Regions from separate parts of the Homo sapiens genome. Here regions 2 and 3 are each linked to region 1. Evidence: promoter capture Hi-C in 16 types of primary human blood cells and fetal thymus (Javierre and others, 2016). All regions are on one chromosome and are shown on one strand. The core of a region is centred on a gene start or on the middle of the fragment in contact, and the rest is flanking DNA. Distances in the headings are between cores, read along the strand shown. Region 1 holds the start of PSMD11 (proteasome 26S subunit, non-ATPase 11). Region 2 overlaps MYO1D (myosin ID). Region 3 overlaps MYO1D (myosin ID).

The links. The method cuts DNA at HindIII sites, captures the fragments that hold promoters and counts their contacts. A CHiCAGO score of 5 or more calls a contact.
Region 2: a fragment that was not itself captured here is called in contact with the fragment with the promoter of PSMD11 in region 1 in 2 of 17 cell types (naive B cells and naive CD8 T cells); the score reaches 5.7 in naive B cells.
Region 3: a contact is called between a fragment that was not itself captured here and the fragment with the promoter of PSMD11 in region 1, in 2 of 17 cell types (naive B cells and non-activated CD4 T cells). The highest score is 6.9, in naive B cells.

The regions. Positions count from the first base shown.
Region 1 is chr17:32,443,018-32,446,136 of GRCh38, reverse strand. PSMD11 (proteasome 26S subunit, non-ATPase 11) reads right to left here and starts at 1,627. Exons shown (of 14, transcript NM_002815.4): 1 at 1,523-1,627. The coding sequence starts at 1,613. RefSeq lists enhancers at 1,538-1,617, 1,231-1,846 and a silencer at 1,738-1,907. The HindIII fragment of the contact is 4,191 bases long and covers 18-3,119 here.
Region 2 is chr17:32,621,184-32,624,302 of GRCh38, reverse strand. The region is part of intron 20 of MYO1D (myosin ID); the gene reads left to right. Among named protein-coding and RNA genes, the nearest start is that of CDK5R1, 140 kb to the right of the region's middle. The HindIII fragment of the contact is 2,592 bases long and covers 112-2,703 here.
Region 3 is chr17:32,600,563-32,603,681 of GRCh38, reverse strand. All of the region lies in intron 21 of MYO1D (myosin ID), which reads left to right. Among named protein-coding and RNA genes, the nearest start is that of CDK5R1, 120 kb to the right of the region's middle. The HindIII fragment of the contact is 2,527 bases long and covers 233-2,759 here.

The DNA.
Region 1 (3,119 bases), core at 378-2,877:
GCTCTAACAGTGAAGCTTTCAGGGAACTCTCCCCTAGAATAGTGGGCCAACAGGAAATACTCTAATTGTAATATTTGACGTAATTTCTACTTTATGAAAGAAAAAATATTAGACACTAGACACAGACTATTAAAATTCATGCTCCTCACATTAGTTCTAAATAATAGTGTGTACTCAGAATAAAATATCCATGTAACGGTGATTGAGATGACTCTGGTTCCGTAGAAGTAACTGACCTAAGATCAGAACTTTTAAAATGAAACACCTTTTACCAATATCATTCAAAGATACACCTTGACGCCCACTTCCTCTCCTTCTCTAGTATCCCCAATGATAAAGTATCAAGATCTTGTCATTGTCCTTTCTCCGTGCAGGTCTGGAATACCAAAATTCAACACACTAAGTCAAATGCCAACATCTTGCAAGTCCCACATACAGGTGCATTCTCATACTACTTGTTGAGCCAATTCAGATCTTCCCAAACTACACTACAAAGATGCCATTACATGTGCAGTGAAGAGCTAGTCCAAGCCCTAATTGAATCCTTTATGAGTGAACATTAACGTCTTCTTCTGTCGTAATAAATTTCTGTTCACACTTGAATCCCAACAGAAAGCTGCCGGAAGCGACTGGCTGGGATTCCCATTTCAGTTTTCCTGTTGTGTGTAGGTGTAAGACCATCGTTATTACAGCGTTAAGAAATTTTAATTTTTCCGGCAACATGCAGCCGACCCGTTCCAAAGAATTCCCTGAACTCCGCGGCTGACAACTAACTCCCTTAACTCACTTCCAACCCCTACAGGCAGTCTGGAAAGATTAGTCACCTCCTCTAGCCAGGCGGTCCCGCTCCAACACCTCACTCTTACACCCTACACAGAGCAGATGAGCGTCTCGGCCACCTCCACAAACCAAATGCCAATCTGAGGTGTGTGTCACCCCTGAATTTCCCACATTCTGAAAGAGACCCTCCTCTTAGTGGAGCTTTCTGCCGTGGGGCTGAGGAGTAGCAGCTCCCAGCGTCCCGTGGAAGGAAACTCCCAGAGAAGAGCAAGCGCTCGCGCTCCCACCCGGAGCAGGCTGTGCTGATTACAACGGCGGGAAATGCCTGTCCAGAGCTGGTTTCGCCAAGGCCTTTCAAGTAGAGACTCTAGGACCAGTCCGTGACAAGCACGCCGGCCGGCACTGCTCCGGGTCCCAGACCAGCTCGTGCGGGCCAGAGCCGGGGACATGGCTAGGGAGGGATCCCCGGGGGCCCGGCTCGGCCCACTCTCCCACCCTACGCTGAGCCCCCCGTGAGTCAGCAGCCGGCGAGGGGACCCGGGGATTGCCTCAAGCCCTCCCACAAGAGTGAGACCTGGGAGGCTCTGGGGAGCTCCGAGCGGCCTGCGCCCCCGGCCCGGCCCCCCTCACACAGTGAGTCAGCAGCATCAGAGCCGGCTAGCCGGGCCCCTCTCCGCTGCCGCCGACCGACATAAGCCGAGCTGGGCCGGCGGGGCCGGGGAGGCGGCGCGGCGACCTTTACCGATGGAGTGGAGGATGTCGATGGAGGCCTCCCGGTCGGTGCTGAGTAGAGACTGGGCTCTCTGGAACTCCACCACCGCCGCCGCCGCCATCTTACCGCTCTCACACCGTCCCCGGCCGCGGCCGCCGACGCCGGAAACACACACCCGGAAAGCCCGCCCTCGGGTCCCTCCGCCTGTAGCTCCCGTGGCTCCGTTCCCAGAGCACTCCGGGAGTTGTAGTCTCTCCGCCGGGCGCGGGCTGAGGGGTGGGGAGAGCGGGACCGCCTCGCAGGTGGGCTGCAAGCTCCCCAGCGCCTCCTAGCGGGCGGCCGGCGAGGAAAAGAGGCGGTGCCCCGCAGTGGGAGCTCTAGATCGGTCCCCGCCCACCCCAAAAGAGGCTTCTTGATTCCGGCCCCGCTCGCGCACCCCTGAGAGGGGTTCCTGAGTACTGGGCTAGGTATTGAGTCAAAGCTGCGTGGCTTTCTTTGCGGCTTCCACGATTTAACCATTCATTCGGGACGATAAGTGACCTTATAAAGTGCTCGCTATGTGGCAAAGAATAGCACCATTCGAATGCGTTCCAGTGTCTGACGCCTGTGCGCCGCACACACGCTTTCCAGGCTTGACTCCCGCAGAACGCTGGCCGGCAGGTGGGCAAACCCGCCAGGACCGGAGAAAACTGTCCTCACGCGCCCATTTAACCTTGGGACAGTGCTGGACGTGATGAAGTGAAACATCACCTTTGCTCCATTCACGCCACAAATACCTCTTGGGAATCCACAGAAGCCTCACCCAGCTCCCCAGCTCAAAGAAAAAAAAAAAAAAAGGAAGGAAGGAAGGGAGGGAGGGAGGGACGGAGGAAGGAAAAAATTGAATTATTCTTCCCAATATCTTCAGCCCCTTCAACTAAAGTCACAGATATCAGTGAAGACGTCGTGTGGACGGAAAAATGACATTCTATGAGACCACTTAGGGTTAAACTTAAGAAAGGTGCTAAAAGGATACAAAGACAATTCAGTATTAAGGAAGACCTTTCTCTAGGTGATGACGATCCAAAAATGGAATGTGCTGTCCCATAAAAGGAGGCAAAAAGGGGACTAACATTGCACACCCTCCTCTGTAAGTGGATTAGGCCATTTATATTCCTCTATCTCCTTTTATTCTCCCAACAATGTTCTGTAAAGCAGATATTTACTCCCCTTTAATATGTGAGGAAACAGGGGTTTGAGTTATTTGGTGAAGCTCAAATCGTGATTGGGAGAGATAAGAGCTGCCGGTTAGGGAATGCCTTCCTAATTCCTGGGTGTGTTCACGTGAAAAGTAGTTGACATCTCATCAGGTTGTTGTAAACAGGATTCATGACTTTGATGGAGAGTTGGATTAAATGGCTTCTAGCAAGGCGCGGTGGCTCATGCCTGTAATCCCAGCACTTTGGGAGGGCGAGGTGGGCATATCGCTTGAGCCCAGGAGTTTGAGACTAGCCTGGGCAACATAGACCCCCGACTCTACTAAAAATACAAAAATTATCCGGGCATGGTGGCGCACGCCTGTAGTCTCAGCTACTTGGGAGGCTGAGGTGGGAGGCTTTAGAAGAAATCATAGGAGAGGATAGAGTGC
Region 2 (3,119 bases), core at 158-2,657, 180 kb before region 1:
AAGTGAGAGGACCGCTTGAGCCCAGGAGTTCAATACCAGCCTGGCCAACATAGCAAGACCCTGTCTCTACAAAAAAAAAAAAAAAACTTAAAGAAAAAATAAAATAAAGCTTCCTAGGTGACTGCACTATGCAGCCAGAGATGAGAACCACTTATCTATTCTGTTCCCCAAATTTTTTCACTTTTGTTGTTTTGGCTCCTTGGAAACATCTGTTAAAAGTTGGACTTGCTCCCAAATTCAGTTCTGCCATTAGAGTTTTTTATCACTTACGTATATGTGTGTGAGAGAGAGACAGAGAGACACAGAGTGCTAAGGTCTGAAGGTGTTCCCCCAAAATTCATATGTCAAAATCCTAACCCCCAAAGTGATGGAACTCGGAGATGGGACCTTTGGGAGGTTTCTACCCTCATAATGGGATTATCGACTTATACAAGAGGCCCCAGAGAGACCCTCGCCCTTTTGCCATGTGAGGACACTACGAGAAGTTGGCAGTCTGCAACCTGGACGAGGGCCACCAGCACCCTCATCTCGGACTTCTAGCTTCCAGAACCGTGAGGAGTAAATCTCTGTTGTTTATAAGCCACCAGTTTATGGTATTTTGTCATAGCCACCTAAATGGACTGAGACAGAGTTGGAGAGAGTGTGTGTTTTCTAGAAAGCCTCATGATCGCGTATCTGTATCAAAAATTAAATTTTCTTTAAGTCATTGACCATGGTTTAATGTTTGAGGACAGTCTCATCAAAAGATTTTCCTTAAACAAGAGTAGTATAAGATAAAGAAATCACCTTATATTTGATGATTTTCATTCCTTATAGTGGACCTCTGCATATATTGTCTCACTTAGCAACGACCCCCCATCCCCACCACTACCACACACATACCACTGGGAGGTGGCCTATACTGGTCCTGGACTGTAGCCATTAAATAAATGAGTTTGTTTCTTTGTTATTGGCTGAGGTCCAGAACAAACTTTCTTTACACAGAATTGTTACGATGAAGTTCTGCACTACAGGGGGAATCTGATTTTTTTAATATAATAAACATTAGAAGGATTTCATTTTATTGGAACCATATCTAAGCATAGACCTCTTTACAGTGTGCCATGGTTAGAGGTATATCTAGTGGGAACAAGTAAAGTTGACAGGCTCAGGGTCCTCTCTCCTGAGTTAGCTGAACTACTACTTTGGCTCCTGTTGAGCAGCCATTCTGCTTCTTGGGAGCCACCTCTGATGTCCGCCCTTACCATCCCCTCTGATAGCCTTTCACAAATCTTGTTGAGTTGTAAAAATATCTTATATTGCATTTAAAGATCATTACACCATAAATGGTAAAGGACAAAAGAAAAATCACACCCCAGTGGGGTCTGGCAACACAAGTGTTAGGATATTTGGAAGCAGATGGGTGGTTGTTGAATTCATGCCCCATTTTAACAGTAGCACCCATCTCAGTTGAATGTTGAGGCCCAAAATGAGGTATATGAAATAATGCGTGGAAAGTCCTCAGCATCGTTCTTATCACATAGTCAGGTGCTCTAGAATTAGAAACTGCTCTTTGCCCCCTTGCAAACTGGCAATCCCATGCCTGTAGAAATCAGAGTCGGATGAAGTCAGCTTTCAGTGCCCTCACTGTCTAATCTTTGATCTCGGTTTTCATTCCCCTGGAGTGTTCTCCCAGATAACTGAATGGCTTCCTTACTTCATTCAGGCCTCTGCCCAAATATAACTTTAAAAGGCTTGTTCAGAATGATACCCTCAGCTCCATCTTATCCCTCTGTATGCCTTTACACACTTTATTCTTCTTCACAGGCCACATCACCACCTGTCACATTATTAGAGTTCTTTTCAGTCTGGCTCCCCCACACCCCCATTAGAACATAGACTCCATGGGAGAAGGGTCGGGGACTCTCTTGTTCCCAGAACACTGCCTGCCATACAGTAGGTGTTCAATAAATGAGTGTTGATGGTTGAGCTGGAGAGGTCAAGACTGGTGACAGGAAAAGCAGTTAAGATGCTGCTTAAGAAATTACAAGGACCTGTACTCAAGCAAGGACCATAAAGAGGGGGAGATGGGTTCAAGACCTGTTTATGTGCGAGAACAACAGGCTTTGGTGCTGGTGACTCACCAAGATGGGAAATACAGGAAAAGAAGCAGGGATGTGGTAGCAGAGTGTGAGAAAGGTCAGTCTCAAATGGGCTTCATTTGAGGCAAGGCCCAATACACAGTCAAAGAGCAACCTAGGATGGAGACTGTCTTAGCATGGGGTGCTGTAACAAGAAACCACAGACCGAGTGGCTTAAACAACAGGAATCTATTTCCCAGTCTGGAGGCTGGAAGTCCAAGATCAGGGTGCCAGCATGTTTGAGCTCTGGTGAGGGCTTTCCTTTCAGTTCACAGAGGACTGGCTGCCTTCTCATTGTATCCTCACATGGGGAAGAGAGGAGGAAGCAGGTTCTGGCCTGTCTTTTCTTATAGAGACACTAATCCCAGCATGAGGGCTCCACCCTCATGACCTAATTACCTCCCATAGGCCCCACCTCCAAATACCATCACACTGGGGATTAGGGTTTCAACATATGGGAGGTCACAGACATTCTCAGTCCTTAGCAGAGACATGGATTTGGAAGCCGTGGACAAGAGCTTGGGGAGGGGCATGAGGAGAGAAAGGAGAAAGTACCTGCAAGGTAACCAGTAAGAATAAAGCTTTTAAGGCTGTAATTAAGGGTTGGCTTTGATAAGGAACACATGGGAACCATCAGTCTTCTAAGCTAGGAGAACCTTTTTAATCCATCCATAGCTTTTACTGTCTTCCACACATTCAATAAATTCTATCATCTACCACTTACCTGGCAGGTAAGGAGGGAAATAAGGACGAGAAGATGCAGCTTCTGCTTGTCGTTTAGTGGGAGAGGCAAATGCAAACAAAAATAATCACAGTGCAGCTTGTTAAATGCAAAAGCAAAGGTGAGCATGAAGTTCTATGAGAGGGTGCAGAATATGGCAGAAATGGCTTTTCAGGACAAGGAAACGTTTGAGGAGGCTCATACGTACAGGCTGAGCATCCCTAATCCAAAATCCAAAACTCTCCAAATTCCAAAACTTTTTGAGCACCAATATGACG
Region 3 (3,119 bases), core at 247-2,746, 160 kb before region 1:
TGGTGGCGGGCACCTGTAGTCCCAGCTACTCAGGAGGCTGAGGCAGGAGAATGGCGTGAACCTGGGAGGCGGAGCTTGCTGTGAGCCAAGATCCCGCCACTTCACTCCAACCTGGGCAACAGAAGGAGACTCTGTCTCAAAAAAAAAAAAAAAAAAAAAAGTTTAGAATGTAAGGAAAAGACATAAAGAAGGCATCTCTGCAATAAATGTCTATAACTCAAATAAGCAAGCTTATTTTCCTGCTAATATTTATAGCAAAGTATAGAAAATTAAAGGAATTTTAATTTGTTACTCTTAATTTGGATACCAGTACTAATGAATGCAAGAGTTTTTGCCTGGGAGATTGAAGTATTTTATCTCTATCTGGGTGCTTATTTAGCAAATTCTGATCTATTAAGTGCCTTCTACAAGTGACAGAAATACGTGAACCTGGATGTAGATTTCATCAGTTGCTTTCTTTTCCTAGCTAGCATATGCATGCTGAGGTACATTTCTAGGCGTATGTCCTCTATCTTTAATGTATGTAAGGATTTTTAATTTCTTTAAAATTTATAAATGTGAAGAGAAGACTATCAAGATGCTAGGAATTTTTTGGTGGATTTTTTTTTTTTAATTCTTGGTGTTTCTATCTTATGAATTAAGAGTGAAGTGGAAATGAGAGATAAAATCTTTCCTCCCAGACCCCAGAAAAGTCAGGCTTGAAATTTTGACTTAGAGTTTTAGTCATCAACTTACTATTTACTTTTTGGGAAAAGGTTAATTTGATTTTTTCTAGCTATTTTCCTTTATTGTCAACTATCGTATCATTGCCATGACATTGAAATTCACATTGTATTTTATAAGCATGATGTTGTGGCACATAATCTTATTTGTCCCTGAGTTAATTATGGAAATCCAAAGGTTCGGGAGGGAATTAACTTCAGACCAATTCTTTATCTTCCAGATAATTTCCCTAAAGTACATTCTGAGATGTGTTCTTGTCAGCAGTTGGGAGGAAAGGGCTCAAAACTTCCCAAGGCTGAGGCAAGAACCAGCTAAGAGGACCAGAGGGAACAGTGCCCAGCCTCACAAAGAGCCAGGAGTAGTTTCTGATCTAACAAGGCAGACTAAAGAACTTCGTCATTCACAGGGTAATTGGGTACAGTATTCAGAAGGGTTTTGCCTCAGTAGGGGGGAATAATTGGCCCTAGAATAAATGCTGCTCTGGTACCACCTAATAAATCTTAAAAGCAAGACCCAAAAGGATCAAACTGCTTCCAAGTAACTTAGCTATGTCCTGAAACAAAGCTCATGTATATTTCTAAAAACACAAAAATATCCATACCCAACAGGTAAAATTCACAATGTCTGACATCCAGTCAAAGATTACGGGCATGCAAATAGGAAAATACAGTCCATTATGAGGGGGAGAATCATCCCTTTGAAACCAACCCAGAACAGACAAAGATACTAGAATTAGCAGATACAGACATTGTAAGTCATTATAACTAGATTTCAGATGTTTATAAGTTAACTAGAGATAAGGAAGATGTAAGAAAAAGACCCAAATCGAACTTCTAGATGAAAAATACACTGATGTTTGAGATATTCCATGATTTAAAAAGAAAACAAAACAAGACAAAGCATGTCCTCGAATAAATTTTTCCTCATCACCATGAGTTGAAGCCAGAACTTTCCTGGCATTTCCTTTCACATGAATCTTGAAACAAAAACCAACTAAGTATAAATTAGTCTCTCTTTCACCTCCTGCAGTCTTTATTCAATCCAGACCCATTATTTCTGCCTCTCCAAGTACACACCCACATATTTTATGTTTGCTAAAACATTTGAAGACAATCTTTAATAAAGTACAGGTATACCTCGTCTTACTGTTCTTGACATTATTACACTTCACAGATATTGTGGTTTTTATAAATTGAAGGTTTATGGCAACCCTGCATTGATCAAGTCTATTAGCACCATTTTTCCTACAGCATATGCTCACTTTATGTCTCTGGACACTGGAAGAAGATGCCATCTAGAACTTTCATAGCTAGAGAGGAGAAGGTCAATGCCTAGCTTCAAAGGACAGGCTGACTCTTTTGTTAGGAGCTAACAAATTGCCACAGCAATTTTGATAATTCTCATAATATTTCAAAACTTTATATTGTTATTAACTGCTATGGTGGGCTTTGATCAGTGATCTTTGTTATTACTGTAATCATTTCAGGGCACCACAAACTGTACCCATGTAGGACAACAGACTTAACTGATCAATGTCGTGTGCGTTCTGACTGCTCCACTGACCATCTATTCCCTCATCTCTCTTCCTCTCCTCAGGCTCCCCTATTCCCTGAGATACAACAAGATTGAAATTAGGTCAGTTAATAACCCTACAGTGGCTTTTAAATGTTCAAGTGAATGGGAGAGTTACACATCTCTCAGTTTATTTTAAAAACTAGAAATGAGCCAGGTATCATGGCTCATTCCTGCGACCCCAGCACTTTGGGAAGTTAAAGCGGGAGGATTGCTTGAGGCCAGGAGTTCCAGACCAAGGTCTGCGCAACATAGTGAGACTCCATCTCTACAAAAAAATTTAAAAGTTAGTCAAGCATGGTGGTGCACACCTGTAGTCTGTAGTCCCAGCTACTTAAGAGGCTGAATTCAAGGCTGCAGTGAGCGATGATCGTGCCACTGCACTTCAACCTGGGTGACAGAACAAGACCTTGTCTCAAAAAAAAAAAAAAAAGGGAAAAGAAAAAGCTAGAAATGATTAAGCTTAGTGAGGAACGCAGGTTGAAAGCTGAGATAGGCCAAAAGCTGGGCCTCTTAAATTAAACAGCCCAGTTGTGAATGCAAAGGAAAAGTTCTTGAAGGAAATTAAAAGTGCTACTGCAGTGAATACATGAATAATAAGAAAGTGAAACAGTCTTATTGCTGATACGGAGAAAGTTTGAGTGGTCTGGATAAAAGATCAAACCAGCCACAACATTCCCTTAAACCAAAGCCTAATGCAGAGCAAGGCCCTAAACTCTCTTAAATTCTTTGAAGGCTGAGAGAGGTGAGGAAGCTGCAGACGAAAAGTGGAAGCTAACAGAGGTTGGTTCATGAGAATTAAGAAAAGAAGACATCTCCATAAC